Regions from separate parts of the Homo sapiens genome. Here region 1 is linked to region 2. The links are contacts of gene promoters, found by promoter capture Hi-C in human tissues and cell types (Jung and others, 2019). All regions are on one chromosome and are shown on one strand. Each heading gives the region's core, a stretch centred on a gene start or on the middle of the fragment in contact. The rest is flanking DNA. Distances are from core to core; before and after follow the strand shown.

Region 1 (2,768 bases), core at 237-2,736, 600 kb after region 2:
AGGAGCCTTGCTTGAACCCAGGAGGCGGAGGTTGCAGTGAGCTGAGCTCGCACCACTGCACTCCAGCCTGGGTGACAGAGCAAGACTGTCTCAAACAAAGAAAACAGATACATGGAATTAGAGTTGAAGAAGAACTAACTGCTTCTTGGACACATCTAATACACCTCTTTTTTGCCTGCCATTTCTTCCATTTCTTCCTAAGGTCCTTTTACTGCCAGTTCCTGAGCCTTTGGAGAATCTTGTGGTCTGAATTGGATTGCTTCATTATTGCCTTAGAATTCAGCTTTTACAGATCCCCTGAGTTCTTAATCATCTGTTTTCCACTTTGAAAATTTCTTTTTACACTTATTTTCTTTGTGAGTTTATGCTTTCAAAACAAAAACAAAACCCTTATTGACATTTCTGTGGGCTTTCAGGAGGGAACAAAAAGTAAATGCATGGGGTCAGCCTGTGGTCTCTACTCAGAAGATGTTACTTACTCCCCCGTCTGTCTGGTCTCCATGTGACCTGGGCTGCTAACGTTCCGCTTGCAGAGAGGTGTGCGGGAGGGACCGGTGCACGCTTTCCTCAACCCTGGAGCATGTTACACTTGGGTTCCCATACTTTCTCCAAGCTTTGACCTTTCGGCTTCCAGTTCACTCTGTCTTTATTCTTCTCATTCCCTTTCATTCTCATGTGTCAGCGCATCTCCTCCATTCCTCCTCAAAAGGTTAGCTTTGCTCTCTCCCACCTTCAGCATTATTTTCATCTCTTCTGTGTTCACCCAACCTATGAACTGGTAGAACTCCTTCGTCTCAGAAAGTGCAGAGTGGTGGGAAGGAGTGAAGCAGCCCCTGGGCCACTGTTGGGACCCACCTTTGACAGTTGTGAGACCTCGGTGAATCATTTAATAACTTGGAGCTGCAAACAGTCATCTGTAACATGGGAGGAAACCGACTTTGTAGGCTTTGAGTGAGGATTCAGTGAGAGACGGCCACCCTGAATATGTTAAACACTTCTGTCACCTTCGGTTTTGACTCAGCATCTTATTTCTGTCCCCCCACCTACAGGTCAAATCTGAATTTTCTACTTCCTCTTAAACATGGGAGAGTCCCACAAAGACTTTAAATCTAACATGGAAATGTATCTTTGCCCCTTTTAACTTTGCTCTTTTTCTTTTGCTAAGTTTCTCATCCCAGCTTTCTCTTCCGCCTGTCTCCCTTTACCATCTGTACTGCCCTTGCTGGGGAAGGCGGGCACGCCCCTTCCCAGGATGGAGCATGTCTTCTCTTCCTGTCAGGTGTGTGAGACCAGGACAGACAGCAGAGAATCTTTTCATTCAGAGCCTCACCCTCTGTCCCGGGCAACAGCAGGTCGAGAACTCTGGTTCTTCCTTAACACTGTTTTTCTAAAAACCAGTTTGATCAGGCCACTTCCTTCCTTAGGAACCTCTCTTGATTTCTTTTCTCTTTTTTTTTTTTTTGGTTTGAGATGGAGTCTCCCTCTGTCACTCGTGCTGGAGTGCAGTGGCACAATCCTGCTCATTGCAGCCTTGACCTCCTGGGCCCAAGCACTTCTCCCACCTCAGCCTCCCAAGTAGCTGGGACTGCGGGCATGTGCTCCCACGCCTGGCTAATTTTATTTATTTATTTATTTTCTGGTTGATGGGAGGTCTCACTATGTTGCCTAGGCCGGTCTCAAACTCCTGGGCTTATGGAATCCTTGTGCCTTGGCCTCCCAGAATGTTGGGATTACAGACATGAACCGCCACACCAGGCCACTTGATTTCTTACTAATTATAGACCAGAATCGAGAGTCACTGAGACATAGAAGAACCTTTATTATATGTGTCAGCCTTCCTTGGTATGTACTGCTGAGCCCACCACACACACCCTTCCAGCCATTCCACATTCTAACCTTTCTCAGATGCCTTCGGCCTTGTGAAAGCCCCTTTCCTTCTACGTGCGTTTTCCTCTGCCTGAAGTGCTGTGTTCGTTTCTCCGAGTCTCTCTCCTTGTTTATTCCTGCTTGTTCCTTTACTGCTGACTTCAGATGTTCCTCCTTGCTAAGCTTTTCGTTGGTTCTTGGCTGGAGTGGGCTGTTCTGTATTCTCAGCACCTTGTTCACATCCCTTTTGGGTCATGCTATTCTGAAATTGTATATGTGTCTGTTTTTCTTTTTTTCTTTGTGTATCTAGCTCAGTTCTCTTAGTTGTTCAGTAAATACTCAGTGAATGAACATAAATGAATACCCTGTAAATTTTGGTCTCTAAGCTTTAAAAGAAGTGTATTAACTTCAGTCCGTTGATGGCGTATTGATAGGTCAGCCATTCTGGGTTGTAGGTCTTGGCATATTTTATAAAATAGTAGATGATGTGAGCTTATGGTTATTTGCATTAAAGGCCAGTGTTTTTCTTGATACATATGTTTAAGTGTCCATTCACCTTTCAGTTACCTTTTAAAGTAGTCCTCGGTTTATAACCAACTGGAAATTATACCACTTGAATTCTTTTTATCAGGACATGATTCTAAGTGGTACTGTGCGAAGTGAACAAACCAGATTTTGGAAAAGTGGTTCAGCAGTCTGTGTATTCTAATTATAGGGAGCATTAGGACTCAAATTCTCCAGGTTTTTAGAAAAGATTTTTGTACTTTAAGGGTATATTGTTAATATCTGTTGAGATGCCTCACCTGAGAACCTTTCTCTGCTGTGGTTAGGGAGTGTTAATCAGAATCACTTGTGCCGTGCCCTACGCGAGAAGGACTCCTTGAGTTCTTTGAAAACATGTT
Region 2 (2,700 bases), core at 21-2,520:
AAACTATCCTGTGCTTTATAAATGTAAGGTATTAGTTTTATTATTCTCAAAGAAAGACCTACAACGGAAGTATTGAAAATCTTTACATTCCTGATATACCCTGATCAACTTCAATATGGAAAGCCTTGCTTATATACAGGCTAATCTTTTCTATCTCTGGGTAGGGAGAAAAAAACAACAAAAAAAAAACACCAGCAACAACCCTTAATGTCCTTTAACAAACACAGATTCAAAATGTCCTGATTACATCTTTAAAATTAAGTCAAATGTTTTCATCCCAAATAAATTCTGTTCTTTCAAATAATATTTTCCCTTCATTTCTAATAAAAGTTTATGAGGGCAAGATTCAAAAGTGATATTTCTGACTTTTTTATATATCAATAGTAAGAAAGTTATAGGAGCTAATTTCACTTCATATTAAACCACTTATAGATTTGGCATTAACTTTAACTTGCTAAAGTACAAGAGTTTTTATAATAACAATGTAAGTCTTAAATAAAATTTTCAAGTTTCATAAAATTATTTGTCTCAGCTAGTTAATTCAACTGGTTTTTAGCCATCTCTGTTTCCAAGAGGAGAGAATCAAAGGAGAAAATAGTTCTACAATCAAATACTATATATCTAATCCCATTAGTCTCTCAAAAAAAAAAAGAAAAGAAAGACGGTATGAGGTTGGCTACCTTAACCCCTGCCTTAAGCAGCACAATATCCATCATTAAACCCCTCAGCCTCAATTCTCCCTTTTCTGTTTTTGTCCCAGGAACTTTATCACCCTGAATCTACCTACAATATCCTCCCCTATCTCACACATCCAAATGGTTCATTCTATTTTATCTGTACCCCTCTTGAAGTACTTCTTCATTTTGCCATTGCATTACAATCATTATTAAACATGTCTTTCTCCTTTACTAGGTAAAAAAAGCTGCTTTTGGTTGATAGCCAGTTCGTATACATCTCCCCGCACACTGCTGGCATGATGAGTGAATGAATGAATGAATGAATGAATGAACAAAGAAATAAATAAAATATTTAACATATATTCCATTAAGTAAAGGGCATATAATATAATATCAGTACATACTTGTAATTAAGATGCAATGAGACAAGTGAGTTATAAAAATTACAGTACAGTAAACAATAAATAAAAACATCTTTAAAAGTATTTAAGAGACTTTTTTTGTTCAAACTTGGATAACGCACACCCTTCTCATTGAGATGCTGCTTCCTCATTGGTTTGTGCTGAAATATGAGTGCAATTTCCTGTCCCCTCAGCAGTGTTGGTTTCTCTTCTTGACTTGATGCAGGCACAGATTTATCAAGCTCCTCAGTCAACAAACACATCACCGGAAGAAATATGGGTAAGTATAAGATTAAAAAATAAAATAATATTTTAAAGTAGATAACATGCTTTGGCATAATTGTCAGTGATGTTCGCAACATTCTTCCTGGTTTAGGCTGTATAAATGTGGTAATGCAAAGCATGATAAGAGAGAAAGAAATGAGGAAGACACATGGTTTCCTCTACTTTGAGCAGTGGTAAAGGGCCAAACTTTAAATTTAGAACTAATTAGGCAAAACCATAGATATAGAAAAAGGGGGTTGTTCATACTTTATTTTCTTTTCAGGAAACAGTGCTTTGGCAAACTTCATTCAGTATTAGGAAGAAGCCTACCAGCCCCTGGCTTTAGAGCTATCTGGCACCAATCCCTCATCTGTACAATGGTCCAGTAAATACTTTTTATATCCATCAGAAAAAAATGTGATATTAGGAAAGAATATTTCCAGTATTAATAAATGTCAAGTAATAATTATTAGTTAATAAGTGACTACCACAGTGCCTGAAATATATAGTAGAGTCTTAATAAGTAACTATTAAACTGATAGATGAAAGCAAGCATTTTCTATAACACTGTAGGAAAATATTGTACTTTTGGTCATCGTCATCAATGATTTGTACTATTTTTAGATCTGTTCAAGAATAGATATACTTTAATATACTGTAGATTGTCTTTTTTGACATCTGGTAAAAATTAAAAAATTAAAAACTCACCAAAATTTCTCAGTGCTTGTTCTAAAAACAATTTTCTCAAAATTTGATTAAAGGAGGCAAAATAATATCTGAAAAGATATGTGAATACTGTAATAGGAATTATATACAGTATTCCACTAAAATCTCAGATCCACCCAAATTAAATGAACAACTATTATCTGCAGAGCCTAGTATTATACGTGAAGTGTTACCATATAAATTACACTCTGAGCACCTCCAGCTTTTCTGCTATGCTGTGGCTAGATGACTAAAGATGATTTCTTTTCAGAAAATGTAGGGGACAGCACAAAGATTGGTGCAGACTACCAATGTCATTAAAACAATATTACCAGCTAACGTACAGTGAATGCCTCCCATGTGCTAGGAACTTTGCTTCATATGTCGTTTCATTTAACCCTCACAACAATCTTAGAAACTGGGTACTAACTTACACATGTGAAAACTGGAACTTAGAGAGGTGAAGAAACACCAATGGGCCCAGAGTGCTGTTGAGAGGCATTCGAATTGTCTCCAGAGCCCACGCTCTTAACCACAAGCCTGTACTGCCTCTGCGTCACTACAAAGAAGAGGGCCTCTGCTTCATCAACCCATCCTGTCTTGTGGTTAAGTCAAGGCAGGAAATGCTTTTACAGCTAGAGAAATGTATTCCA

Evidence for each region. Contacts are between HindIII fragments. The study calls those that stand out against the background at their distance.
Region 1: a contact is called between a fragment that was not itself captured here and the fragment with the promoter of GPR65 in region 2, in 1 of the 25 tissues and cell types used here (lymphoblastoid cells).

The regions. Positions count from the first base shown.
Region 1 is chr14:88,598,994-88,601,761 of GRCh38, forward strand. The region is part of intron 10 of ZC3H14 (zinc finger CCCH-type containing 14); the gene reads left to right. Among named protein-coding and RNA genes, the nearest start is that of ZC3H14, 37 kb to the left of the region's middle. RefSeq lists an enhancer at 1,059-1,338. The HindIII fragment of the contact is 4,650 bases long and covers 1-2,768 here.
Region 2 is chr14:88,003,865-88,006,564 of GRCh38, forward strand. GPR65 (G protein-coupled receptor 65) reads left to right here and starts at 1,271. Exons shown (of 2, transcript NM_003608.4): 1 at 1,271-1,358. RefSeq lists enhancers at 1,686-1,855, 2,656-2,700. The HindIII fragment of the contact is 6,432 bases long and covers 1-2,700 here.